Linked DNA regions of Homo sapiens: regions 1, 2 and 4 are each linked to region 3. Evidence: promoter capture Hi-C in 16 types of primary human blood cells and fetal thymus (Javierre and others, 2016). All regions are on one chromosome and are shown on one strand. The core of a region is centred on a gene start or on the middle of the fragment in contact, and the rest is flanking DNA. Distances in the headings are between cores, read along the strand shown. Region 1 overlaps PIKFYVE (phosphoinositide kinase, FYVE-type zinc finger containing). Region 2 overlaps FASTKD2 (FAST kinase domains 2). Region 3 holds the start of FZD5 (frizzled class receptor 5). Region 4 has its middle 24 kb from the start of MIR3130-1.

Region 1 (7,111 bases), core at 622-3,121, 540 kb after region 3:
GTTTAGTATGAAGTGCATAGAACAAGTATAAAGAGGCATTTTTACCCAAAGCTTTCTTGAATTTGCCGGGCAGTGATGGGTTTAGTATGAGTAATATTTTGTGTGTGGGCGTATTCTCTATATAATTATGCTGACATGTTATAGTCATATGTCTCTACTTTTGTTCCTCCTCTCTGTTGTCTCCCTGGTATGCAGAGTATTTGATTTCTGACACTGGAGGACAACAGCTCTCAATAAGTGACGCTTTCATCAAAGGTAATTTTATAAAAAGCTGTATGTGGAATGGTGTCTCTTTTTTTCATGAGGATATACTTAGGGCTTAGCACATTGATTAGCACAGAGAAGGTGCTGAAAATATATTTGATTATGGTGGTATCATGGGAACACAGTTTTTAATATATATAATGATTTAGAGAATGTTGAGAACCAAGAATGTAAACTTGGACTTGGTTTGCGAGAAGGAGGTCTCTGATGTGAAAAGTAATTGTTTAAAAACTTTTAAGTAGAATTTGAACTTAATTCTTTTAAAGACATAGTTTACACTTAACTGTATTGTGAATATAATATTAAGTATTGATATAAATATCATCAAGGATTGTCAAATTTGTCAAAAAGCCCACAGGCAGATCTCCAGTTAAGGATGCTGCTTGCCCTGTGGAGTGAGGAAGAGAAGCAGGCAGTAGAGGTTAAAGAACTAACTCTGATGATAAATTTCTTTTGGACACAAAAGGAGATTAGCCTTCTCCTATTCCTTCCCTACTTAGCTTAGCTTAGCTTCCTAGAGTAAAGACATTCTTAGTCCATAGTACTCCACTGGTTAGGCCTCAGATAATGGGAGAAAATTTCTCTTCCTTCTTGGCTCCCACGGTTTCAGATCAAAGAGAGAAGGCAAGCGGGTACAAGGAGCCACTGCAGCTTATCTGATAGCTTGGCAGTGCTTCTAAATTCATCTCCAAGCATCTGGTTCGGCTAGAAGTTTACAGAGTGGCCCTTTATGTAATTGAAATGTGCAATTCTTGTACTTCACATGTCATGGACATATACTTTACTGTGTAATCTGCTGGGCTGTTTGGTGGAAGTTTTTTTGTTTGTTTGTTTTGCTTTTAAGAGGGGACAGGTTAGAGAATTTTTGTAAGCATTTCCCACTTCTTTTCTTTCCACTTATTTGGTCAGATTATTCAACAGTTATTTAGTGAACATATTTTTTTGTTAAGCATTTATTATTTATTTTTTGTCTTATCTATTTTCATTCATCCTTTAAAAAATTTAAAGATTTTACACAAATTCTACATAAATGCTATTTATTATGTTTTAATATTTATGTTTTTGAGTCTGTCTTGCTAAAATTTTGTTAAAAAACCCCTGTGCCAATATTGAAAGAGAAACACTATTGAGGATTGTCTGAATAGACTTTCTACACTGTCATCTGTTGTTTTGTGATATCTGAGCTGAGCTTCTTTCTTGAAAATTCATCACTCTCGCTATCATGTGTTCTTTTGCCAGCATTCAGATTTCTGTTGAATGCAGTTTTCAGTTTGTGATTTTTTTTTTTTTTTTTTTGAGATGGAGTCTCGCTCTGTCACTCAGGTTGGAGTGCAGTGGTGCGATCTTGGCTCACTGCAATCTCTGCCTCCTAGGTTCAAGTGATTCTCCTGCCTCAGCCTCCCTTGTAGCTGGGATTACAGGCGTGTGCCAACACGCCCAGCTAATTTTTGTGTTTTTAGCAGAGATGGAGTTTCGCCATGTTGGCCAGGCTGGTCTCGAACTCCTGACCTCAGGTGATCTGCCCACCTCGGCCTCCCAAAGTGTTGGAATTACAGGCGTGAGCTACCACGCGCGGCCCAGTTTGTGATTTTAAAGGGGAAATTAACACCCTCGTTTTTAAAAATTAAAAGGAGAAGCAAAAGTTTCATTTTATTTGCTTTTCAGAAGCTGTGCTTATAATTATTGGCTTGAGAGTCTTAGTTACGTACATTTGATTTTCACAGTTCTGTTTCTGATTTTGGCTGTTGCCAATTACTGCTCTTCTTAATTCTTGCATTTCTGTATTTTTAGTGTATTTTATGTATTTGTAAGTATTTTCTTATGCATTTTATTTATATGTTTATTACATGTTCTTGCCTTTTTACACCAATAATTTATGTTGGCTAACTTAAAACATTTATAAAGACAAAGGGCAATTTCTAAATATATGAGTAGATGGTATAAAACAGGACAATGAAGTAATAACTTCTTATTTTATATTGTACTTAGAATCCTTATTTAATCGCCGAGTAGAGGAAAAATCCAAAGAGCTGCCTTTCACACCTTTGGGCTGGCATCATAACAACCTGGAGCTCCTGAGGGAGGAGAATGGGGAGAAACAAGCCATGGAGAGGTTGCTGTAAGGCAATGAAATTTTTAATTTTAATTTTTCACTTTTATTATCTTCAGTGACTTGATAAGCATATGCATCATTCCTCTTAAAAAGGGAGGTCTTTTTCTTTTTCCTTAGAAAGTAAAAAAATACTAAGGTTACTTAGGAAATACAGTCTATTTTGACTTGTGATTAAATTTCTTATAAAACCAAGAGCCCCGGCTGGGTGCAGTGGCTCACGCCTGTAATCCCAGCACTTTGGGAGGCTGAGGCGGGAGGATCACAAGCTCAGAAGGTTGAGACCAGCCTGGCCAACATGGTAAAACCCCGTCTCTACTAATAATACAAAAATTAGCCAGGCGTGGTGGCGCTGGCCTGTAATCCCAACTACTCAGAGGCTGAGACAGGAGGATTGCTTGAACTCAAGAGGCGGAGGTTGCAGTGAGCTGAGATCGCGCCACTGCACTCCAACCTAGGCAACAGAGCAAGACTTCGTCTCAGAGAAAAAAAACAAAAACAAAAGCCCCAAACTGTGCTTGTCTGTCCCCATTTTACGTGTTAAAATTTCATTTCAGTCAATTGCAGGGGACTTCTTAGTGGAAGATATTCAGATTTCATTTATATGCAAAATCCTTAAGGTACAGATATAATGAAAGAATGATATTGACCTAGAAAATCTTATCTGTGAGCCGTAATTGAAATGTTTATTTCTTTGTAGGCTGTTTGTTTTATCATCAGAATTATTGTCTCTGGCAGTATTAACTATGCAAACTTCTTTCTTATAATATTTTTGTAGTTCAGCTAATCATAACCACATGATGGCACTACTCCAGCAGTTGCTCCATAGTGACTCACTGTCATCATCTTGGAGGGACATCATCGTGTCATTGGTCTGCCAGGTTGTTCAGACAGTCCGACCTGATGTCAAGAACCAGGATGATGACATGGATATCCGTCAGTTTGTCCACATCAAAAAAGTGAGCTCTGCTAATGTTTTACTAATGCTAGGAACTGATGAGGCAGGACTGATTGTAATTTTTGTCTTAATGGTAATCTGAAAAGAGTCATTACCCTGAGGGGTGCTAGGTGAGGAGTAGGAGGTTTTGCTGTCTGCTTTGTTAGCAGCGCACTTAGGAGTCATGGAAGCCACGCATAGGAAGTGAAAGGTCAATGGAAAGGATGAGTTATATCGGAGATGAGTTGGGAACCCAAACAGAGATAGGTTCTTCCTTTCTTGCTTCCTCTTCTTGACAAGTCAGCTATGAGAAAGCCTGTTCTCACAGATTGTGATCACTGTTTGGAGGAAAAGCAGTGGGTAATTTGCTTTATTTAGATCAAGCTTGTCCCACTCGTGGCCTGTGGGCTGCATGCAGCCCAAGACTGCTTTGAATCTGGCCCAACACCAATTCATAAACTTCTTAAAACATTATGACATTTTTTGCGATTTTTTTTTTTAACTTTTTTATGTCTCTTTCTTTTTTTTTAATTATTATTATACTTTAAGTTTTAGGGTACATGTGCACAATGTGCGGGTTAGTTACATATGTATACATGTGCCATGCTGGTGTGCTGCACCCATTAACTCGTCATTTAGCATTAGGTATATCACCTAATGCTATCCCTCACCCCTCCCCCCACCCCACAACAGTCCCCAGAGTGTGATGTTCCCCTTCCTGTGTCCATGTGTTCTCATTGTTCAATTCCCATCTATGAGTGAGAACATGTGGTGTTTGGTTTTTTGTCCTTGCGATAGTTTACTGAGAATGATGATTTCCAATTTCATCCACGTCCCTACAAAGGACATGAACTCACCCTTTTTTATGGTTGCATAGCATTCCATGGTGTGTATGTGTCACATTTTCTTAATCCAGTCTATCATTATTGGACATTTGGGTTGGTTCCAAGTCTTTGCTATTGTGAATAGTGCCGCAATAAACATAATGTGTGCATGTGTCTTTATAGCAGCATGATTTATAGTCCTTTGGGTATATACCCAGTAATGGGATGGCTGGGTCAAATGGTATTTCTAGTTCTAGATCCCTGAGGAATCACCACACTGACTTCCACAATGGTTGAACTAGTTTACAGTCCCACCAACAGTGTAAAAGTGTTCCTATTTCTCCACATCCTCTCCAGCACCTGTTGTTTCCTGACTTTTTAATGATTGCCATTCTAACTGGTGTGAGATGGTATCTCATTGTGGTTTTGATTTGCATTTCTCTGATGAAAAAACCACTTTAAAGTTCGTATGGAACCAAAAAAGAGCCCGCATCGCCAAGTCAATCCTAAGCCAAAAGAACAAAGCTGGAGGCATCACGCTACCTGACTTCAAACTATACTACAAGGCTACAGTAACCAAAACAGCGTGGTACTGGTACCAAAATAGAGATATAGATCAATGGAACAGAACAGAACCCTCAGAAATAACACTGCATATCTACAACTATCCGATCTTTGACAAACCTGAGAAAAACAAGCAATGGGGAAAGGATTCCCTATTTAATAAATGGTGCTGGGAAAACTGCCTAACCATATGTAGAAAGCTGAAACTGGATTCCTTCCTTACATCTTATACAAAAATTAATTCAAGATGGATTAAAGACTTAAACGTTAGACCTAAAACCATAAAAACCCTAGAAGAAAACGTAGGCATTACCATTCAGGACATAGGCATGGGCAAGGACTTCATGTCTAAAACACCAAAAGCAACGGCAACAAAAGCCAAAATTGACAAATGGGATCTAATTAAACTAAAGAGCTTCTGCACAGCAAAAGAAACTACCATCAGAGTGAACAGGCAACCTACAAAATGGGAGAAAATTTTCGCAACCTACTCATCTGACAAAGGGCTAATATCCACAATCTACAATGAACTCAAACAAATTTACAAGAAAAAAACAACCCCATCAAAAAGTGGGCAAAGGATATGAACAGACACTTCTCAAAAGAAGACATTTATGCAGCCAAAAGACACATGAAAAAATGCTCATCATCACTGGCCATCAGAGAAATGCAAATCAAAACCACAATGCGATTTTTTTTTTAAGCTCATCAGCTGTTATTAGTGGATTTTATGTGTGGCCCAATACAATTCTTCTTCCAGTGAGGCCCAGGGAAGTCAAAAGATTGGACACCCCTGATTTAGATAGTAATGGAGTCCTGTGTGTGCTTTTTCCCTATGATATTTAACTTAAACAATAGTGTTAACTGCCACATGGCACTAGTTTATTCAGTCAGTGAGTACTTTAGAGTCCTAGGGTAGTACATTAGAGAACAGGGGATGGGAAAACAGAGTCATGCAGAGATGCCATTGATCGTTGGTTGAAAGGAAGTATTATTTCCTGAAATTTTTTGTTCTTATTTGATTACATAATAGTTTAAAAAAAATGGAAAGAAATAATAGCGTACATCTAACTAGATTCTAAGCATGTTATCATTGAATTTTATTGTTTTCTTAATTGTTCCATTAGATCCCAGGTGGAAAGAAGTTTGATTCTGTGGTTGTCAATGGCTTTGTTTGTACCAAGAACATTGCACATAAAAAGGTAATGTGATTCAGTTCAGCAGTGAAGTTCAGCAAACCATGGCTGTGTGCTTAGGTAACAAGTTGGGGCACCTTAGTTATGGAAGAAATGGACAATGGACAATGAAAGGCAGCTGTGTCTGCCATAGGGGTGAAATTTGGTTGGTTCAGGGAAGATTTCCCAGAGCTGAGGATGAATGGATTGGAATTTGAATAATGGGAATTCACCAGACAGAAGGAGGAAGGGGAGAGGATCAGGCTTCTAGATTAACAGAATGATAAGATACTGGCATTATTTATCTCCTGATCCTGTTACGTCTTAGGGAGACAGGGTTTCTCTAGTAGGCTGGAGTCCTTCCAGAGGCTTAGCATTCTAAAACTGATAGCTCTTCTAGTGCTCGGCTACAGAACTGTCAGTCTTCTTCTGTTATCCTTCTCACCTTATATCTTTGTAGCACTAGCACAAAGGAGTGGAGTGAGATAACCTGGGGTATTAAGGAGACTCTGAGTTCCTAAGGTGTAATATGGGCAATGTAGATGAAGCTGGAGGAAGCAGGCAAGGGCTTTGTATGTCATTAAAGGTCTTGAACTTTATTCTGAAATCTTTTGATTCTCAGTGTAGTGTACATACATTGAGATCACATGTGGACCTTTTAAAAATGTCTGTTCTTAACCTAACCCCTAGAAATTCTCATTCAGTAGGTTAAGGGCAATGGGAGTGTATGGATGTTAGGGAAATGGTGGTACTGTATTTAAAGTAGGCACTAGGCTGAGTGTGTAATACCAGCACTTTGGGAGGCCGAGGCTGGCAGATCACGATGTCAGGATTTTGAGAGCAGCCTGGCCATATGGTGAAACCACATCTGTACTAAAAATACAAAAGTTAGCCGGCGTGGTGGCGTGTGCCTGTAGTCTCAGCTACTCGGGAGGCTGAGGCAGAAGAATCTCTTGAACCTTGGAGGCGAAGGTTGCAGTGAGCTGAGATCACGCCACTGCAGTGCAGTCTGGGCAACAGAGCGAGACTCCGTCTCAAAAAAAAAAAAAAAAAAAAAGTAGGCACTTCAGGTGTTTCCAGTGTCATTTGTTGGTCCTTGCATTTTGAGATACCATTTATCTATAGTAGTGTTCTCAAACCTTGCTGTGCTTCAGAATCACCAGCGGAAACATTCAAAACAGAGATACCCTGGCCCCACTTCTGGGGATACTGATTTTGTTACAGCAAGAGCTGAGGC
Region 2 (7,608 bases), core at 4,835-7,334, 980 kb before region 3:
CAGTTTTGACCTTAACTATTCATTTGGTCTCAAGCTACTGCTTTCTATTCTTTTCATTTTAACCACAGCCATGCATTCCTACTATTAAATACAGTAATTCCTCAAATGTGCCAGCTTCTTTCATACCTCTGCTTTCTACCCAGAACATCTTTTCTTACTCTTTGGATCAGTCAGGGTTCATTAAAAATCAGAAAAGCATATAAAATGTCATTTGTTAAAACAGTGATTAAAAGCATGGACTCTAGAGCTAGCTTGCTTAGGTTTGAGTTTCAGCATTGCCATTTGTTAGCTGCTTGACTTTTGGCAAATTACTTATCTGTGCCTCAGTTTATTCACTTATTAAAATGGAGATGAGCTATGTCTAATCTCATTGGGTTGTTATTAGAATTAAATGAGTTAATCTATGTCAAGTTCTTATGACAATGCCCAGCACATAGTAATTTTTAGATTTGAAAAAAATTAGAGTGTAGGTCACAGAGGCCTTGGGGGAACAAACTAGGGCAGTTGTGAAGGTCTCAGTGGCAAGATGCACAGGCCATCTGTTTGCCATCAAATGACTTGACTCCAGCTGCTTGCTTTCCTTTTAGTTTTCCCTCCAGATTTAGATTTCTGAAAGAGAACATCTGATTGACTGAGTTTGAGTCAAATGCCCATCCCTTAGGGGCAGTTAATCAATTAAGTGGTGTCAGGCCAACTAAAAAGCAGCTTCCCACTGTACTGTCCACTGAATGGACAGACTCAGCTCATACTGCATTTCCTGTGTCTTCCCTAATTGTCACCGTCAGAGTCCCTGTGCTTGTCATGTCTTACCCAGTCTCCGGTGCAGCCTTGACAACAGGCTGCACCGGAGACTGGGTAAGACATGACAAGTTGTGTCACATCATTTGTTGTGTCAGTAAGTCTGTCTCTGCTCCTCAGTTGGTAAGCTCTCCGGAGTCCGACCCAGCTGCCTGTTTTTCTGAACTTAGTACAGGACCTGCCAAAGAGTAGACATTTAATAAAGGTCGAAAAATATCTCCCAAATTCAATCTTCCTTTACTCCCCTGGCTTCATTTTCTTCTGAGGCTGGCTCCCATTGATGCCTTGTACTTTCTAGACAAATAATATCAAGCTAAGTGGTAATTAAAACTCCAGAAACAGCCCCAGAGGGATTAAGAGAGTAAGTACTGGGCGGGTAAGAGTTTTTCAGGTGACTCCAGGCAACCTGAGAGATAACTTGTTCCAACAAAATTGTTACATTGAAAATAGAGGGGGGATAACAAAGGTAACAAAGGCTGGGAGGACATTTAATAAAATGGCAGTAGTAGAATTAGTACAGGAGGAGAATCATGAATGTTGTCTTTTTGTCTGTCTATTCTGCTTTCATTTAACCTAGTGGTTTTCAAACAGGGATGATTTTGCCTCCCAGGGGACATTTGGCAAGGTATGGAGATGGTTTTTAGTTGCCACAACAGGAGGGAGGTCTGTGCTACTGGCCTCTAGTGGACAGAGGCCAGGGGTGCCGCTAACATCCTACTATGCAGAAGATAGCCCCTCACAATAAGGAATTATCCAGCCCCGGATGTTAGTAGTGCTGAGATTGAGAAACCCTTACCTAATTCTAAGCCTCCCACCTCAACATTTCTCCAAAGGAGAAGTAGGGGCAATATGGCAGATATAGCAAGATTAATTAGTCACCATTTCCTGAATGCCCATGAATGTACAATTGCCTGGATTTGGTATTTTGAAGGCTATAAAAAAAGAAGTTTGTATTCCCTGCTCTTCCTAGACCATTTATGAGAACAACTCTGTTGTATATCCAGAGGAAGGCAGTACATGGTAGGCACCAAGTAAGTGCTTTATGGAGGAAGGAGAAAGGAAGATGGCAACTTATCTGGAGTAGCAAAGGTTTTGGAAGCAGAATAACTCAAAGTATTTGGGAAGAGAGTTGACTAGAAGAGATGGTTAGATAGGAGAGTGGTAGGAATTCTGGCTTATTGTATACCCACATGCTATACATTAATCATTATTTCATTTATGATGGCCCATCGGGGAGAGGGTGTTAAATCCAGAGTATCTTGCTGGGCTTTGAACCCAAGGAACAAATATGTAACGTTTAAGCTCTGTTGTTTTGGTCCTTTGGTTTCTTCTCTTCTTGATCTGTATTTACCACCTTATGGATAATCCCACATTTGCATCTGTGGTCATTAGTGTGCTCCTTAACTCCAGACCTGAGTCTCTGTGGGTTGCATATGGTCACTGCACATCCCAGAAGTGTCTCAAGTTCAGTAATTCTGGAAGTCAGCTATTTTTCTTGACTCATCGTTTTCCAATGACAAGCTCGTCCTCCTGTCTTCCTCATCAAAGTTTATTTGTTCGTTTAGTCAGCATTTGCCAAGCACCTGGACACTTAGGAGAAAGATGAATAAGACAGTCCTTCTTGCCAGAGGATTCTGTGTAATGGGTAAGGTAGATATGTAAATTGGCAGTTAAATATAGCATGAAAATTCGAGTGATCTAGCATATTAGTCTGTTTTCACGCAGCTGATAAAGACATACCCGAGACTGGGCACTTTACAAAAGAAAGAGGTTTAATGGACTCACAGTTCCACATGGCTGGGGAGGCCCCACAATCATGGCAGAAGATGAAAGGCACATCTCACAGGGCAGCAGACAAGAGAGACAGCCAAGCAAAAGGGGTTTCCCCTTATAAAACTATCAGATCTCGTGAGACTTATTGACTACCACAAGAAGAGTATGGGGGAAACCACCCCCATGATTCAGCTATCTACCACTGGGTCCCTCACAACACAAGGGAATTATAGGAGCTACAATTCAAAATGAGATTTGGGTGGGGACACAGCCAAACCATATCATCTAGGATATTTGGAAATAGAGGAAGGATATATCAGGATGCCAGCCTGGTGAAGAGGAGGGTCAGGGGATATCAGGCAGTGTTGCCTGGAGGGGTTGGTATCTGAGCTGATCTTAAAAGATGGAGAGATGGGGTTTTACCATGGAAAGATAAGCAGGAAAGAACATTCCAAGTGAAAGGCCCTCTATATGCAAGACCTGGAGGAAAGAAACAGCAGAGCACATGCAGGGAACAGCACACAGTTTGGGCTGCTGAAGCATGAGGTACAGGGTGAGGAGTGGGGCAAGAGAAGACCAGAGGGGGGATCATTACCCAGGCTCCCAACTTCCTTGTCCACACCATCCCCTGCCCCCGCATCCCACTGCATGTTCCAAAAGCAGTCAGTACTAATTTCAGACGTGCTGCCTTGCTATTGCGTATATGATCTGTTATATTCCTCCCATTTCATCATAATTCCTATCGTTTTCCTGGCCTTATCACAGCCCTTCATCCTCCCCAACACTTCTTCCCCTACCCATGGACCTCTCAGTTGATTTCAGTCTCATTGTTAACAAGGGCTTGTGTCCAGGCATATTTGCCCCAGCTGTTAAGAAACACTCCTCTGTACCTTCATCTCACCAGTTATTCACTATCAGGCAAGTAGCATGTGCTTTCAGGGCTGTGCTCAAATCTTCTTCCCTTATTCCATCTTTTCCACTTATTCAAATTCTCCTCCCAAAAGCTTCTGTTTATTTTCTTTCCTCTGCGAGATCACAGTACTTTGCATGTATTTCTTTTTTTATATAACTATATGTATCATATGCCCTGAGAATCAGATTGACGTGTGTTCAAAGGGTATCTACCATTTATTAGTGGTGTCACTCTGGGCAAGCGACTGCCCCTGATTTTGATCTTTTCTGTCTTCATTTGTGCTTAACCACGTTATACTGTGTACCATTAGCTGTGGGTGGTAGGATTAGGCTTGCAGTTCTTTTAACCCATAGTATTGATAACTAGATAATTTTAGTTGGTTATAAAACTGTAGTGGTGGTCCAGGCGTTATAGAAAATCTAGCATAATTATGAAAAGGTTCTGGAGCCTGACACCTTATGTTCTAATACTGCCTTTGCTACTTCCTTGTCTGTGTGTTCTTAGACAAGTTACTCAATCTCTAAGCCTGTTTACCCATTTTTTTAAATGAGGAGAATAATAGTAATACCCATGGAGTTTTTTAGTGTGAGTTAAATGAGTTAAAGTCTATAAAATGTTTGTCTCGTGCAAGACATACAGCAATAGCCAACATTTATTGAATGTATACACTTATTATGAGATAACCAACTGTCCAGAATGATGTGTGGATACTTACTTGCAAGGCTGATTTTCTTATCTCTTTTCTTTGGAATCGTTACAGATATTGGCCTTCTGTATATGTTGGGAAACTGACTTTTCTTTGTTCCCCAGACAGTTCGTGGAAGTTATGGCTAGTGCTCTGACTGGTTATCTTCACACTATTTCTTCTGAAAACTTATTGGATGCAGTATATTCATTTTGCTTGATGAATTACTTTCCCCTGGCTCCTTTTAATCAGCTTCTGCAAAAAGACATCATCAGTGAGCTGCTGACATCAGGTAGGATGTTAGTGCAGAATTGGTCACCAATTGTGACCAATTCTGCACTACCACTAGCTACCATATGACTCTGAATGGGGTCTTAGTTGGAGCAGTGTTAGTTGAAATTTGCAGAGCAGGTGTTGCTGTGGAAAGGGCTGATAATGGTGAAGTCAAAGGATAGTGCTTCAAAGCAGCAAACCTACAGACCCTTCTTTAATGACAAGTCCTACATGTAGAAAAAAATAAGGAATGCATCATTATTCCTTTTATTTATACTCTATCCTTCTATACAAAGGCTAACTGTTCAGGCTGTTCTTTATGCTTTGATCAGAGCTGTTTTAATTCCTAATCCTTACTTATCACATTTGAAGCCAACCTAAGTCAATTTTTGCAGCTGTAAACACTTGGTCACTCCTGGCCTGTGATGAGGGAACACCTGTTAGATCAAGAAACCAAATAGCCACCAAATTAATTAGTTCATTTACTCTTGGAACCAAATTAACTGTTGACTTTTAGTCTTTAGTATTAAATAAGGCAAAGCAATATTCAGGTAGATGTACAAAATTTGACGATGTGTCTGAGAATAGAGTAGTTCAGAATTAAAACATAAATAAATAAATGTTATAAAATCCCAAAGTTGAGTTGTAGAGAGTCAGTCAATAATACCACGTGCTGGTTTTTCAGGCAGTGTAATAATGGAGAAACAGCCTTGAACCTTGGAAACCTGGATTCTAGTTCCAACTTTGCCTTAATTACGAGGCTTTTTAACTTTCCTGGGCATTTCCTTATCCATAAATTGAGGAGTTTAGACTAAATGACCTCTAAAGATATTTGAAGCCTTAAAACATTATCAAGTGCAGGGCTTTGATTTAGACCCTGTGGAAACCAGGGAGACAAAGAGAGAGTCCTTGTGATAAGAAAGAGATAATTAGAAATACAAGTGCATTTATGTATATATTTATTATTTTATAACTATTACTAAATATATACTAATATAGTTTTTTAATGTTGCATTTATTTCTTCTTAATGATATACTCTCTTTTTCATCTTTTAGATGACATGAAGAATGCTTACAAGCTGCATACTTTGGATACTTGTCTAAAACTTGATGATACTGTCTATCTGAGGGACATAGCCTTGTCACTCCCACAGCTGCCGCGGGAGCTGCCATCGTCACATACAAATGCAAAGGTGGCAGAGGTGCTGAGCAGCCTTCTGGGAGGTGAAGGACACTTCTCAAAGGATGTGCACTTGCCACACAATTATCATATTGGTATGGGACATTATATGATTTCCTTTCATTTTATTGTATTTATTTTCCTTTTTTTCTGACCAAAAAAATAGGTATTTGTGGCAGCAGTTTAGTGTAGTGCAGCATTGCCTCTGGAACTGGCCTGATTCTTGCCTCATAAAATTCTTGTGACCAATAAATGAAATTCTACACATTTTTATGTGTCTAAAATCCCAAGACTAGTATCTGACACATGGTTAGCTCTCAATATATTTTAGCTACTGCTATTATCATTATTGGTAGTACTATTAAACATTTTGAAACAGAAAATCACTTGGGGCTGGTCACGGTGGCACACGCCTGTAATCCTAGCATGTGGAGAGGCCGAGGCAGGTGGATCACTGGAGCTCAGGAGTTCAAGACCAGCCTGACCAAATGGTAAAATCCTGTCTCTACCAAAAAAATACAAAACTTAGATGGGCGTGATGGCATGCCCCTGTAGTCCCAGCTACTCAACAGGGTGGGGTAAAAGGATTGCTTGAACCTGGGAAGTTGCTGCAGTGAGCTGAGATCACACTACTGCACTCCAGCCTGGATGACAGAGCGAGACCACATCTCAAAAAAAAAAAAAAAAAGGAAAAGAAAAGAAAAAGAAAGTCACTTGGAGGAATGTTTGAAAAATTAATATCAATTCTTTCCTTTCAGATTTTGAAATCAGAATGGACACTAACAGGAATCAAGTGCTACCACTTTCTGATGTGGATACAACTTCTGCTACAGATATTCAAAGGTTGCTTACATATATTTCATTTGCTGGGCTTTCTGAATTAAAATCCTAATTCTAAAAGACTTCATATTAAATAGCAGTAGTAAATCTAAGACTTGATGTTTGTATGGAGCCTGCAGCACACCAAGAGACTTGTCATCCATCAATGTACTCCTTAGAAAGTGTAAATGTGGACGTTATGGTTGAATACAATGGACTACAGTATTGGTCATTTAATGAGACAGACATTTTTTTAAAATTAGGTTTTGAAGCTATAGTTCAATAAAACAATATTAATATAATTGAAACTATCAATGCAGTGTAGACTTTGGACAAGATAATATAATAGTGATCATAAAGAATAAAGACTCGAGGCTTCTACAAAAATCAAATACCCAATAAATATTTTGCTCTACCACCAAGACTTTTCCAGAGGTAGAGAAACCGTAGTTTTTTAATTAAACTGTATTTGTATGGGTTAGAGCACATTGAAGCTAATCCTAAGTTGTTTCTTTGGCTCACACATTACAAATAGAGTGTCTCTGGGGAGAAATATGATGCTATACCATGAGAGAACATCCTGCCTCTTCAGTAGATGCATAAGATCATGCCATCATTGCACACACCCGTGGGTCAGTTACCCTTTATGTAAAAGCTCTGCTACATGGATCCTGACCCCAAGGAACTTGTATCTTCTGTTAACTCCACTGGACACACACACACACATAAATATGATAGAAACATACAAAAAAATCTGTAGGGATCCAAGCTCTTATCTGCCCATCCCTCTTCATTCACACACAGTTCTGTGACTTTCACCTCTTTCTGAATGCATCTAGCTTATTTCTTGGCCATCTTTTCAACCGCTGTCTTTCCTATTAGTGCTACCCATCTCCCCTCAGAAGAGGCTTTCTCTCTGACCTCATTCCAAGATCAGTTTTCTTTTTCGGGTACTCCGCTATTCTGGCATAATAAAATAACAGTTGTTCTCAGCATAAAGTCATGAGAAGTGAAGAATGTGAGCATTCCTTTAAAAACATAAAATTTGTCTTATAACAGCCAGAGTATAGGTGAAGGCAGTAAGGATATAAATGTCTTTTTTTTTTCTTTTTTTCTCCCAGTAAACTTAGTATTTCCAAAGTGCCAGGAACAATGAAAAAACAAATT
Region 3 (7,642 bases), core at 1-2,500:
GGACGCGGCGGCCGCCCGGCCCACCAGCTGCGCTAGGAGCAGCAGCAACAGCGAGGGCGGCGCGGATGGGTCAGGCCGAGCCATCGCCCCCTCCCTCCCCTCGCCTCCAGCAGCCCGCGAGGGACGCACACAGGCAGAGGAATCCGGGCCGGGGCTTCTCCCTCCGGCGTCTCGTGTGTGGCGCCGGGGCTGGCAACCTGTTGGTTGCTTTTTCCTTTAAAGAAAACCGTCCAAAGATAAACTGCTTCGGGAAGGCGCTGCCTCCGCTGGCAGCGCTCCGCTCCTCGCCGGATAGGGCTGGGGAGAGACGGTTAGGGCTCGGATTCCAGGGAAAGGACTCTTTAAAAAAGAAGGGGGAGAAGAAAGATTGCAACCACTCCCTGTTGGAGAGGCGTCAACAGTTCGGTCCCCGCGAGCTGTCTCCAAATCTCTTAAGTTAACCCCTTTCCTTTCCTCCCCGCTCCGCCTCCTGTAACCAAACTACCGACTCCCCCACCCTCTCTTTCCAAGCTGGGCCCTTCAGGCAGTGCCCGGAGACCAGAACCCTCAGCTTCCCGGAAAAGGGCACAGGAAACGGGAGAAGAACAGGGAGAAAGGGAAGGTTCTCACCTCCACGGATCCCGCCGAGAAGAGCAGACAGTCCCCAGCCAGCCTGGGTCCTCCGTCCCTGGGTCACTCCGCTGAGAAGCGCGACTCAGAGCCGGGCTGGCGCCCGGAAAGTTTAGCGACAGGCTGGGTACCCGTGGCAGCGGCACATGGCAGCAGGTGGGGGCGACTCAGAGTGGGGGGCGCCCCCAGAACAGGGGCGGCGCAGGCCGGTCACTCGCCCTCTCCTCCTCGGGAGCCCCCCGCATGATCCAGACGGAGCCGGGCAGGGGCAGGCCGTGCGTTCTCCCCGGGGCCGGGAGCCGGACGGAGGGCGAGCGCGCCTGGCAGCACCTGGGCGGGAGGAAGGCGGGAGGCGGGGGCCGTGGGACCCCGCCGCCTCACAGCACCGCGAGCAGCCGGCGCTGGCCAGGCCGGGACTGCATGGTGAGCGCCGGCCGCCGCGTCCCGCCCGCCGCTCGCCTCCTCCCCTGCAGGGGGCTCCGCGCTCCAGTGGACTCCTGGGGGCGGTGGCGACGCTCTCGGGACGTGCCCTGCTCGGCTCCTCCCCCGCGCTCTCGCACCCTTTCGCCCACCTCTGGCGAGCACGGAACCGCGCGCGGCGGCGACCACAGCGGACTCACGGCCGCAGGCTGGCTGCCCTCTCCCGCCCCGCCCGGGTCACCTGCTTCTAATGCCCGCCGGGAAGCCCCGCCCCGGCTCCGCCCCCTCAGGCCCGGGCGCGGTTGGTGGGCCGCCTCGCCAAGCTCTCCGCGCGTCCCCGCCCACTGCCCCGCGGGCTCGGCCTTTCCCCCGGCGCCCTCTGGCCCCGCCAGGAGCGGGCAGCCAAGGAGCGCTGACCAATCGCGGGCCTGGAGGAGATGGGGGCGGGGCGAATGCTAATCATGCCGCTCTGGGCACCCGGGCGGGAAGCCCTTGCCAGAAGTCCCTCCGGAGTTCTCTGCCCGCGCCCTGGGTGCAGGACTCGCTCCTGTAACTTCCTGGCTTATGCACCTTTGCTCCCAGGGCCCCTGCCCTTTCTGCCTGCAGCTAAGCGTCCTTACAGAGTTCAGTGCTTCTTTGAAAGAACTGCTCAAGGAATCACTCTTAGGCGTGGCTGTCTCCCTTCCGAGCTGTCTTGGAACTGTGTGAAAGAAGAGAGGATACTTACTGAGCCCTTTACTGTGTGCCCAACAAAGTGTTAATCGGTTACATCCTTTTTTTTTTTTTTTTTTTTTGAGACGAGTTGTTCTGTCTCCCAGGCTGGAGTGCAGTGGCGCGATCTCGGCTCACTGCAACCTCTGTCTCCCGGGTTCAAGCGATTATCCTGCCTCAGCCTCCTGCGTAGCTGGGATTACTGGCGCCCGCCACCACGCCCAGCTAATTTTTGTATTTTTGGTAGAGACGGGCTTTCACCATGTAAGGCTGTTCTCGAACTCCTGACACCGTGATCTGCCCGCCTCGGCCTCCCAAAATGCTGGGATTACAGGTGTGAGCCACCGCGCCCGGCCCGTTTACATCTTAAGACAAGATCTCACTCCTTACAACAATTCTGAGGCAGGTACTTCCTACAGGTGAAGAAACCGAGACTGAGACTTGGCCAAGGCAACCGAGCTAATCATAGTTCCCCCAAGAAAGGGCGACCTCGGCAAGCAAGTTCACCTCCGTATTCCGATCACCTGGCACATAGTAGCCGCCCAAATGGCAACCCTGGGATTCGAACCCAGGTAGTTGGTCAGCGGCACTCACCATCGTAGCCGCCCCTCCCCCCATACTATCGCAGCCTCCCTGGCTTCGACCTTTACTTTTGCATCTCTTAACAAAATCTTGTTGTGACAAGAAAATGGATTTCTTTCTGCCTTTAGAAGACCCAGAAAGATGTGAGTCCTTTATTGGTCGAGGTTTATAATCCCAGGCAGTTCCGAAGTCGCCCGCAGAGAGAAGCGATACCGACCCAGGGTTCTGTGCTGGGCAGGGCGCCGGCCTCCCCGTGCCCTTCCGTCCCCGGCTGCCTGCTGCTAAGCCGCGCACTTGCGCGCCGCGGGGGGTCGGAGGGCGCACCGATGGCGGGGACACGGCGGCGCTCTTCAGTTGCGCAATTATGCTACAAGTTTTAAATGTCCTAAAAATGCCTCTTTTCTATGTGTTGTAATTAGATTGGAAGACTGAGGTATTTAGCATACTTGAAATACATTCACACGCCTAGGAAGAGGGTTTAAATTTTTTCCTTCTCCCCAAACTTTTCCTTCCACTGGGCAAAGGGCGAAAATAGGCAAGAGGGCCTGGGGACACTTGAAGGGATAGGGACTGGACTAACTGGACTAGATCCAGATCAACCGCGGGTTACTGTCCATCTCCTGTGCTGGATCCCATTGGCACAGGTTGGAAGAATAAATTGCGGAAGTGCCACTCCCCTCCTGCGTATCAACAACGCTTTGTGGGCAATAATGAAGAACACGTGTGTTAATCCCAGCCTCCAAGTTAAAAAGGAACAAATATCAATCACTTCGCGGATATCAAAACTATTAATAAACGTTTAAAAGGCCGGGCGCCATAGCTCACGCCTGTAATCCTAACACTTTGGGAGGCTGAGGTGGGAGGATGGCTTGAACCCAGGAGTTTGCAGACCAGCCTGAGCAACATAGCAAGACCCCCAACTCTAAAATACATAATTAAATAAATGAATAAATATACCTTACATCTTTCTTTCTCTGGAATTCTACAGGTGTTCATATTTTATCTCTTGTGTTTTGGAATTACTTGCCACTCTGGGTCAGGAAGCATCCCAGGGTTGAAAATAGTGGGAGTTGAAAAGCTGTGGGCATAGCAGTGAGCAAGAAAGGGAAGCCCTCAGTGGAAAGTATGTGCAGACTATGAACATGCCAAGGGAGGCCCATCTCATTCTGTGCTCTTTATGCAACGTGTGTATTACTGGGGATGGACAAGTGTTGGCTAATAATAAAAATTATTTGAAGTTGGAGAATGTTAATCACTCACACTGGAATTTAGCCAGAATATTTGTGTTATTTCACACGGTTCTGTCAGAGGCATTTGAACCAGAGCGACTCCATCTTGGATAGGGACTGGGTAAAATAAGGCTGAGACCTACTGGGCTGCATTCCCAGGAGGTGAAGACATTCTAAGTCAACAGGGTGAGATAGGAGGTCAGCACAAGATACAGGCCATAAAGACCTTGCTGATAAAACAGGGCGCAGTAAAGAAGCCGGCAAAAACCCAGCAAAACCAAGATGGCCAGGAGAGTGACCTCTGGTCGTCCTCACTGCTTATTGTAACTTAATTATAATACATTAGCATGCTAAAAGACACTCCCACCAATGCCAAAGCAGTTTACATTTTACAGATGCCATGGCAACCGTCAGGAAGTTACCCTGTATGGTCTAAGAGGGGGAGGAACCCTCAGTTCCGGGAATTGCCCGCCCCTTTCCCGGAAACTCATGAATAATCCACCCTTTGTTTAGCATATGATCAAGAAATAACCATAAAAATGGGCAACCGGCGGCCCATGCCGCTGCTCTGTCTATGGAGTAGCCATTCTTTATTCCTTTCCTTCTTTTTTTTTTTTTTTTTTTTTTTTTTTGACAGTCTTGCTCTGACGCCCAGGCTGGAGTGCAGTGGGGGTGCAAGCTCGTCTCACTGCAACCTCTGCCTCCTAGGTTCAAGCAATTCTTGTGCCTCAGCCTCCCAGGAAGCTGGGATTACAGGCCTACGCCACAACACCCTGCTATTTTTTGCATTTTTAGTAGAGTCGGGGTTTCGCCATGTTCACCAGGCTGGTCTGGAACTCCTGGCCTCAAGTGATCCGCCCGCCTCGGTCGGACTCTCAAGGTGCTGGATTACAAGCATGAACCACCTCGCTCGGCCCTTTCTTACCAAACTTGCTTTCACTTTACTCTATGGATTCGCCCGGAATTCTTTCTTGCATGAGATCCAAAAACCCTCTCTTGGGGTCTGAATCAGGACCCTTTTCCAGTAAAGGTTCTGAAGAAAACAATGTTATCTACTGGTTTGTAAACCTTTTCTTCATCAACAGCAAAATCTTAATTTTACTTGGAGATCTCTAATAATAATAGTGATAGCAGAGAACTTTATGGAAAGAAACTTATTTCAGCTGGGCAAGGTGGCTCATGCCAGTAATTTCAACGCTTTGGGAAGCTGAGGCAGGAAGATCACTAGGGCCCAGGAGTTCAAGACGAGCCTTGGCAATATAGTGAGACCTCATCTCTAAAAAAAAAAAAAAAAAAAAAAAAAAGGAGAGAGCAAGACATTTTATATCGTATATGTTTTTGTATTGTATTGTGTTGCTTTTTGTCTATATTTTGAAGGCACTTTAAAATATGCTGGCTGTTTAACATGTATTAGGCAGGGTGCTAGACGTCGTTTAATCCTCAGATGAAGAAACTGGTGCTATAATGACTTTGATGACTTGCTTGAAGTTATTTATTTAGTCTATGGAGTCAAAAACTTTCACACACCGTGATGATGACAGTTCAGTAACAACATACTGTAAATGAAAATTGCTAAGAGAGTAGATTTTAAGTGTTCTCACCACACAAAAATAATGAAAAATATGTAGAGGTAATGCATATGTTAATTAGCTCAATTTACCCATTCTAGAATGTATACATATGTCAGAACATCATGTGGTACATCATAAATATATACAATTGTTATTTGTCAATTAAAAAATAAAATATCTCACAATTTTCACCTGAGTCATACTTTATTACCCAACAAACTAGAAAACACTGAATTTTTTTTTTTTTTTTTTGGTTGGGGGGACAGGGTCGTGCTCTGTCACCCAGGCTAGAATGCAGTGGCACGATCTTGGCTCACTGCAACCTCTGCCTCCTTGGCTCAAGTGATCCACCTCAGCCTTCTGAGTAGCTGGGACTACAGGCATGCATCACCATGCTCAGCTAATTTTTTAAAAACTTTTTGTAGAGACCAGGTCTCACTATGTTGCTGAAGCTGGTCTTGAACTCCTGGACTCAGGCAATCCTCCCACCTCAGCTTCCAGAAGTGCTAGGATTACATGTGTGAGCCACTGTGCCTGGCCAAATTTTTTTAAAGATGCAATGTTTAAGCATTTAGAACATTGTTAAGCATCCTTGTCTATTTATTCACTCATGTATCTGTCCATCTATCGATTAATCCATCCATTCGCCAAATGTCAAATTTCTGAGTTGAAGACACTACTGCCATACAAAACATAATTTGATGAAGCCAAACTCATGAAATTCAACTGGAATTATTGTCCAAATTGTGTTTATTAATTGATGAAAATACAAAGGATAATGCTAAATATTCCATCTAATAGGCGTGTGACATTCCATAAGTTTTGAAGTATTGGTTTTGGATTTTTGCCATCAGGGAACAGTTACATCATTTTAAAACTTTCTAGATTTGGCTGGGCACAATGGCTCATGCTTGTAATCCTAGCCCTTTGGGAGGCTGAGGCGGGCAGATTGCCTGAGCTCAGGAGTTCGAGACCAGCCTGGGCAACGTGGTGAAACTCTGTCTCTACTAAAATACAAAAAAGTAGCCAGGCATGGTGGCGGGCGCCTGTAGTACCAGCTACTCAGGAGGCTGAAGCAGGAGAATTTCTTGAACCCAGGAGGCAGAGGTTGCAGTGAGCCAAGATTGCGCCACTGCACTCCAGCCTGGGCGACAGAGCAAGATTCTGTCTTCAAAAAAAAAAAAAAACTTTCTACATTTATGTTGTTTATACATGCATTATTTTGTTGAGATTCTTGAGAGTTCAATGCTGTAGGAATGAATGAACAGGTATCCTTTGTATGTATACTATTCAATATCTTGATAATCAAGCCTGGAATATTATGTTACATCTAGACACCTTCAATAAATATTTGTGAAATAAATAAATGAGTGAATGACAACTGATACTAACTTTTTCAATTTTAGCAACTGGCATTCAGTCCTTGAATTCAGATGAACTCTCCCTCTGAGGTTGACCAGGTCCTGTTAAATGAAGCCTAAGTCCAAATTTTGGCTCTGCCTTTACAAGCTAGGCAACCTCGGGCAAGTCACCTAACAGCTCCAGGCCCCCTTACTTCTCTGTAAAATAGAGTTAGAAATAGTTATCTACCTCCCAGAGCTATAGTGAGGAGTAAGTATATTTATATGGTAAAGAGCTTAGAACCATGTCTAGCCCCTGAGTCTCTATAGGTCTTGGCTATTATTATTAGTTTCTTCTAAGGTTCATTCTGTTTTTCCAGTTTTCTGTATTTTCTTTTGTATATTACTTTAACAAGGGAAAAAATAACTATTTTTTTCCAGGTGTACTTTATTTCTGAGAACACTGCAGGCTCTCACCAGCTATCTCTGGCACTTAGATATTGGTAAATTTAGTGCCAAAGCAGGGATCGTGTCACTTGCCCAGGATCAAAGTGCACACTCCTGATTATCAGTAACCATGTATGTGCACACTTGCTGGCTCAGGATAGAGGCCACCAGCCAACCCAAGTTCCTCACAGGTATTTCCAGACTAGCTCCCAACATGTCCTACAGCATCTCTGATCACTGCTCTTCCCATCGTATCAGATACCTCGAGACACAAACCAGAGGATTAAAACAATGAGCCATTTTTCCTGGGTTCATAATGAGAGTATCTTTTGTAAGTGGAATAATTCAACAGTAATCTTCAGTCCTCTCTTCTCCTACAATGTGGTGGAGATTATAGAAGAGTAAAAGCAGCTTTCTTTTTCTCCTCGGGGTAATGGAAGTACTGGGCTAATCTTTGCCACGCTGATCAGTGGCCCTCAGCTGCGCATTGCAATCACCGGGGAGCTTTTAGAAATACTGAAGCTTGGGCCCTGTTTAATCGGAGTCTCTGGTTGAGGGACAGGAAATGTGTTTTGGTTTATTTGTTTGTTTTGGTGGTGGTTTTGTTTTTAAGTCTTAACCCTGTTTTTGGCTAGGGTGGAGAACCACTGGCATAGATGGTTTTGGTGTTTCCTCAGTACAGCCCCAGACTTGGGCCTAGCTGAGTCTTTTGCAAGGAGGGTTATTCACATCA
Region 4 (6,842 bases), core at 666-3,165, 960 kb before region 3:
TGAAAGTTTCTGGTAGAGCACAGAGGCAGGAAGTCTATTCTTTAGTGGTGTGTGTGTGTGTGTGTGTGTGTGTGTGTGTGTGTGTGTGTGTGTGTGTGTGGTGTGTGTTGGGGGAAACGCATGGTATAGGGGGTACATTTATCCTGAACAAGGACGAGATAGGAGTGGCCCAGTGCTCTTCTGACTTCCAAAGCCTGCTTTGCATTCAAGTTCAGGAGCTTAGGGCTCTCAAAGACTTCTTTTTCCTTCCATTCCTCCCACAGAATGAGAACAAATCCTGGTTAGAGCTACAGGGATCTTCCCAGCTTGTGAAAATTCCCATGTAATTGTTTCTGAGAGGCTGTCTTTCTTTCTCAGAAGTTCCAGAGAATTCCAGCTTCCCAAGGGCTGACCTTGAGTCATCCACACACCCGTTTTCCACCTTCTCAGCTCTGGAACAGGGTTTGGTTCCGTGGCTTATGACTTTCCCAAGGTTTCTGAGCTCGGTCCAGCAAGTAAAATATGTATCCCCTTCACTTAAGGAAGCAAAATTTTGTGGGCAAATTCTCAATCATGGCAAATCTTCATCTTTTGTATCTGGCTTTGGTTTAAACAAATGGTTAAAAGTACCTCCCAGCTAGCTTTGGTGAATGAAGTTGATAAAACTAAGTTACATTCCTTTTGATTAAATATAGGCATGAAGAGTTAATTTTTCTCTTCAGATAAGAACTAACTCAGAAGGCAGTTCCAGAAGAAAAGTGCATCCAAATATTTTGAACAATGACAGCATCATGGGAATAAGTGTACGGCATGTCTCCCGGGAAGAGTATTTGAAGCCCAAACCAACAGATACCACATAAAATACAACAATAGCCACTATCTTTTAAGCATTTTCCTCAAAGGTTGATTAAATGAAACACTTCAACTTTGGGGTAAGTATTATTAATGCCCACTTTATAGATGAAAAAATTCAGACTTAGACTTATCAGCCATGTGGCTTTGAGCAAGTAATTTAAATTTTTAGATTTGATTCCAGAGCCATATATCATATATGATATAACTTTGTACCAACCAAACAGAAAGCAAGTCATTTTCAAACAAATGCTTTATTGATTTTCTCTTATTTATATACTAGGATATGAAGTTAACAATACATTTTACATGGGTACCTTTCTGTCAAGTTGGAATGAATTTCCGCATGAATAAGAAAGGCCCATTTTCTCTTCATTTTTGTATTTTGAATAGTAGAGAGGCAAGGGAGAGAGAAGGAGGGCCACTGGGCTGAGAATCAGGAGACCTGGGTTCCAGCCACTGCCTCTGTCATTTAAATTCTCTAGGATGCCTGTTATTCCAGCACTTTGAGAGGTGGGCAGATTGCTTGAGCCCAAGGGTTCGAGACCAGCCTGGACAACATCGTGAAACCCTGTCTCTACAAAAAAAATACAAAAATTAGCTGGACTTGGTGGCATACATCTGTAATCCCAGCTACTCAGGTGGCTGAGGTGGGAGGATTGCTCGAGGCTGGGAGGTTGAAGCTGTAGCGAGCCATGATCGCACCACTGCACTCCAGCCTGGGCAAGAGAGGGAGACCCTGTCTCAAAAAAAAAAAAAAGAGAGAAAAGAAAAGAAAAAGGAAAAGAAATTCTCTAGGTCTTGGTTTCCTCAGTGATATAACAGTCAAGTTGGGATAGACCTTCTCTAAGATGTGGTGCTCTCCCTTCTTCGCAAATGCTTAGCATAAGCCCAGATTTCCAATTCCAACATCTGGTCAAAGGCCTTCCCCCTTGCCCCAAACCATGACTTAAGCTTGTAGAAGTGTATGCTGTCATCCTAGGACTAAGAATGTGCAGTGCCTCATAAATCAAATTCAACATTAAATTGCACTGCAAACAAAAAGTTTCACATGGTTACAATGTTGCTGTATGGAATTTAATGAGCTCCATATGCCTGACCTCTGGATATAAATGATTTGGGGAACTGTAGCTGTGAAAGAGTCTAAGGGCATCAGCATCTGGTGGTGTGAGTTACACAGAGTGAAGAGAATCGACCTCATTTTTGTACTATTGCCAAGCTTGGAAAGGTAGAAATACTCTGCAATCGGTATGCTCACCTTCTGAGAGAATGCTGACAGTTTTCCAGAATTTTTCTCACTCATCAGGAAGTTGTGGAGTCCAGTGGATTCTGACTTCCTTCCTGCAGTGCTCCCAGACACTCGTGCCTGTGAGGCCACTGGGCTTTCACTCTGTCCTGGGGAGAGCAGGCTCTCTTGTTGGACATATCGGTGACTTTTGATTGACTACTTGTACTTGTTTTGGTCGTCTCTGCTACCCATAAAAAGGTTCTGCCTAAAACCCAGATCTGACAATGTTATCAATGTTATTCTTCTCCCTTATTTAAACAATTCAGGACTCCTCTTTTTTGTTTGTTTTTAGACAGAGTTTCTTTTGCTCTTGTTGCCCAGGCTGGAGTGCAATGGTGTGATCTCAGCTCACCGCAACCTCCGCCTCCCGGATTCAAGAGATTCTCCTGCCTCAGCCTCCTGAGTAGCTGGGATTACAGGCGTGCACCACCATGCCCGACTAATTTTGTATTTTTAGTAGAGACGGGGTTTCTCCATGTTGGTTTTCACACGCGTCCGTGTGAAGAGACCACCAAACAGGCTTTGTGTGAGCAACATGGCTGTTTATTTCACCTGGGTGCAGGCGGGCTGAGTCAGAAAAGAGTCAGAGAAGGGAGATAAGGGTGGGGCCGTTTTATAGGATTTGGGTAGGTAAAGGAAAATTACAGTCAAAGGGGGTTTGTTCTCTGACAGGCAGGAGTGGGGGGTCGCAAGGTGCTCAGTGGGGGTGATTTTTGAGTCAGGATGAGCCAGGAAAAGGACTTTCACAAGGTAATGTCATCAGTTAAGGCAAGGACCGGCCATTTACACTTCTTTTGTGGTGGAATGTCATCAGTTAAGGCGGGGCAGGGCATATTCACTTCTTTTGTGATTCTTCAGTTACTTCAGGCCATCTGGGCGTATACCTGCAAGTCACAGGGGATGCGATGGCTTGGCTTGGGCTCAGAGGCCTGACATTCCTGCCTTCTTATATTAATAAAAAAAATAAAACAAAATAGTGTTGAAGTTTTGGGGCGGTGAAAATTTTGGGGGGGTGGTATGGAGAGAGAATGGGCGATGTTTCTCAGGGCTGCTTCAAGCGGGATTAGGGGCGGCGTGGGAACCTAGAGTGGGAGAGATTAAGCTGAAGGGAGGTCTTGTGGTAAGGGGTGATATTGTGGGGTTGTTAGAAGAAACATTTGTCGTATAGAATGATTGGTGATGGCCTGGATACGGTTTTGTATGAATTGAAAAACTAAATGGAATAACAGAAGGAGAAAAACAGGTATAAAAGGTCTAAGAATTGGGACGACTCAGGATATCTGATTGGAGAGTGCTTAAGGAGATTCAGCATAGTCCTGCCAGCAAAGATTATTTATTTACTTCAAGAGTTAAGAGTGGCAGTTTGGGGACAGCACCAGGAGATATCAGCTGTGATGGCTTGGAGAAACAGTGTAAACTGGCAGTGTAAACAAGAGCAGGTCATGTATGAGTAGTTGAGAACGGTGAATAGGAGTATGACTAGACAGAAAATAGGAGTATGACAAGTTTTTTTTTGGGGAGGTAGGCACAGTCTAAGTTGGTCTGGTGTCTGGAATGAGACTGGGGCCTAATAAAAAGGAGCGTCTATACAGGAGCTTAAATGGGCTGTACCCTGTAGCATTCCGAGGACAGGCCTGAATTCTGAGAAGGGAAAGTGGTAAAAGTATTGTCCAGTCCTTTTTGGTGGCTGAGCTTGGTGAGGTGTGTTTTTAAAAGACCTTCAGTCCATTCTACTTTTCTTGAAGACGGAGGACCGTAAGGGATATAAAGGTTTCACTGAATACTAAGAGCCTGAAAAACTGCTTGGCTGATTTGACTAATAAAGGCTCATCTGTTATCAGACTGTATTGAGGTGGGAAGGCTAAACTGAGGAATTATGTCTGACAGAAGGGAAGAAATGACTGCAGTGGCCTTCTCAGACCCTGTAGGAAAGGCCTTTACTTATTCAGTGAAAGTGTCTATTTAGACTAAGAGGTATTTTAGTTTCCTGACTCAGGGCATGTTGAGTAAAGCTAATTTGCCAGTCCTGGGTGGGGCAAATCCTCGAGCTTGATGTGTAGGGAAGGGAGGGGGCCAGAATAATCCCTGAGGAGTAGTAGAATAGCAGATGGAACACTGAGAAGTTATTTCCTTGAGGATAGATTTCCACGATGGAAAGGAAATGAGAGGTTCTAAGAGGCGGGCTAGTGGCTTGTACTATAGTATAACCTGCCTTTGCTGGTGTGTGGCGATTAGGTCTGGTGGAACCGCCATCAATAAATCAAGCATGATTAGGGTGAGGAACAGGAAAGAAGAAAATCTGGGGAAATGGGGTGAATGTCAGGTGGATCAGAGAGATACAGTCATGGGGTCAGGTGTGGTATCAGGAATAATGTGGGAGGCCGGATTGAAGTCTGGGGCAGGAACAACGGTAATTGTGGGAGACTCAACGAAGAGTGAGTATAGCTGAAGGAGCCGGGAAGCAGAAAGTATATGCGTCAGGTATGAGGAAGAAAATAGATTTTGGAAGTTATGAGAACTGTAGAGAGTGAGTTGAGCATAGTTTGTGATTTTAAGGGCCTCTAAAAGTATTAAAGCAGTGGCAGCCGCTGCTTGCAGACATGAGGGCTAGGCTAAAACAGTAAGGTCAAGTTGTTTGGACAGAAAGGCTACAGGGTGTGGTCCTGGCTCTTGTGTAAGAATTCTGACCGCGCTAACCATGCCTAGGAAGGAAAGGAGTTGTTGTTTTGTAGAAGGTGCTGGGGTTTGAGAGATTAGTCGGACACGATTGGCAGGGAGAGCACGTGTGTTTTTATGAGAATTATGCCGAGATAGGTAACAGATGAGGAAGAAATTTGGGCTTGATTGAAGTAATGGGGCTGTCTGTGAGCTTTGCGGCAGTACAGCCTAGGTAATTTGCTGAGCTTGATGGGTGTCAGGGTCAGTCCAAGTGAAAGCGAAGAGAGGCTGGGATGCAAAGGAATAGTAAAGAAAGCATGTTTGAGATCCAGAACAGAATAATGGGTTGTAGAGGGAGGTATTGAGGATAGGAGAGTATATGGGTTTGGCACCACGGGGTGGATAGGCAAAACAATTTGGTTGCTAAGGCGCAGATCCTGAACTAACTTGTAAGGCTTGTCTGGTTTTAGGACAGGTAAAATGGGGGAATTGTAAGGAGAGTTTATAGGCTTTAAAAGGCCATGCTGTAGCAGGCGAGTGATAACAGGCTTTAATCTTTTTAAAGCATGCTGCGGGATGGGATATTGTCATTGAGTGGGGTAAGGGTGATTAGGTTTTAATGAGATGGTAAGGGGTGCATGATCGGTCACCAAGGAGGGAGTAGAGGTATCTTATACTTGTGGGTTAAGGTGGGGGGATACAAGAGGAGGACGCAAAGGAGGCTTTGGACTGGGAAGAAGGGTGGCAATGAGATTTAGCTGTAGTCCAGGAATAGTCAGGGAAGCAGATAATTTAGTTAAAGTGTCTCAGCCTAATAAGGGAACTGGGCAGGTGGGGATAACTAAAAAGGAGCGCTTAAAAGAGTATTGTCTAAGTTGGCACCAGAGTTGGGGAGTTTTAAGAGGTTTAGAAGCCTGGCCATCAATACCCACAACAGTTATGGAGGCAAGGGAAACAGGCCCTTGAAAAGAAGGTAATGTGGAGTGGGTAGCCTCCGTATTGATTAAGAAGGGGACTGGCTTACCTTCCACTGTGAGAGTTACCGGAAGCTCAGCATCCGTGATGGTCTAGGGGGCTTCCAAGGCGATCGGGCAGTGTCAGTCTTCAGCCGCTAAGCCGAGAAGTTCTGGGAAGGAGTCAGTCAGAGAGCCTTGGGCCAGAGTTCCAGGGACTCTGGGAGTGGCTGCCAGGTGAGTTGAACAGTCCGATTTTCAGTGGGGTCCCACACAGTTGGGACGCGGCTTAGGAGGAATCCCGGGCTGCGGGCATTCCTTGGCCCAGTGGCCAGATTTCCAGCACATTTAGCAAGCTCCTGGGGGAGGAGGTTCTGGAGGAACGCCTGGCTGCTGCGGTTCAGGCGTTTGGAAGTCTTGTGTGCTGGAGATGTGTCTGGGGTTTGTCTCACAGTGGAGGCAAGGAATTGCAACTTTTTTCTGTTATTGTACACCTTGAAGGTGAGGTTAATTAAGTCTTGTTGTGGGGTTTGAGGGCCAGATTCCAATTTTTGGAGTTTTATTTAATGTTGGAAGCAGATTGGGTAATAGAATGTATATTGAGAATAAGACGGCCTTTTGACCTTTTAGGGTCTAGGGCTGTAAAGTGTCTCAGGGTTGCTGCCAAACGAGCCATGAACTGGGCTGGGTTTTTATATTTGATGAAAAAGGGCCTAAACGCTTCTGATTTGGGATAAAGAAAAAGGAGCATTAACCTTGACTATGCCTTTAGCTCCAGCCACCTTTTTAAGAGTAAATTGCTGGGCAGGTGGGGGAGGGCTAGTCACAGAACGAAACTGTAAGCCGGACCAGGTGTGAGGAGGGGAGGCGATAAAAAGATTACAGGGTGGAGGAGCGGAGGCTGAGGAAGAATGGGGACCTAGCTTGGGCTAGCGAGGAGGGGAGAGGTCAGATGGGTCTGTAGAAAAGGAAGATTAGAAAGACTCAGCGACGCTTGGGGTTGGGACTGAGGGGACAGGCGGGAGGGAAAGAAGGAAGATTTGGGACAAGTTGCACTGGGCACAGAGACTAGGAAGGGACTGATGTGTAAAAGAATGCCTGGACGTCAGGCA

What was found. Contacts are between HindIII fragments. The CHiCAGO score rates a contact against its expected background, and 5 or more counts as called.
Region 1: a contact is called between a fragment that was not itself captured here and the fragment with the promoter of FZD5 in region 3, in 1 of 17 cell types (M0 macrophages). The highest score is 5.0, in M0 macrophages.
Region 2: a fragment that was not itself captured here is called in contact with the fragment with the promoter of FZD5 in region 3 in 1 of 17 cell types (total B cells); the score reaches 5.2 in total B cells.
Region 4: a contact is called between a fragment that was not itself captured here and the fragment with the promoter of FZD5 in region 3, in 1 of 17 cell types (non-activated CD4 T cells). The highest score is 5.4, in non-activated CD4 T cells.

The regions. Positions count from the first base shown.
Region 1 is chr2:208,312,041-208,319,151 of GRCh38, forward strand. PIKFYVE (phosphoinositide kinase, FYVE-type zinc finger containing) reads left to right here. Exons shown (of 42, transcript NM_015040.4): 13 at 196-255; 14 at 2,254-2,383; 15 at 3,153-3,333; 16 at 5,827-5,901. Among named protein-coding and RNA genes, the nearest start is that of PIKFYVE, 49 kb to the left of the region's middle. The HindIII fragment of the contact is 3,644 bases long and covers 50-3,693 here.
Region 2 is chr2:206,782,439-206,790,046 of GRCh38, forward strand. FASTKD2 (FAST kinase domains 2) reads left to right here. Exons shown (of 12, transcript NM_001136193.2): 8 at 4,295-4,461; 9 at 5,499-5,717; 10 at 6,381-6,465. It overlaps MIR3130-1 (microRNA 3130-1), which reads right to left and starts at 870; the gene lies at 796-870. It overlaps MIR3130-2 (microRNA 3130-2), which reads left to right and starts at 796; the gene lies at 796-870. The HindIII fragment of the contact is 5,023 bases long and covers 3,574-7,608 here.
Region 3 is chr2:207,768,656-207,776,297 of GRCh38, forward strand. It overlaps FZD5 (frizzled class receptor 5), which reads right to left and starts at 1,251. Exons shown (of 2, transcript NM_003468.4): 1 at 610-1,251; 2 at 1-339. The coding sequence starts at 84. RefSeq lists silencers at 2-61, 472-531, 872-1,551, 3,608-4,083 and enhancers at 2,102-2,151, 2,316-3,136. The HindIII fragment of the contact is 9,976 bases long and covers 1-7,429 here.
Region 4 is chr2:206,804,236-206,811,077 of GRCh38, forward strand. No RefSeq gene overlaps it. Among named protein-coding and RNA genes, the nearest start is that of MIR3130-1, 24 kb to the left of the region's middle. RefSeq lists an enhancer at 2,498-3,325. The HindIII fragment of the contact is 265 bases long and covers 1,784-2,048 here.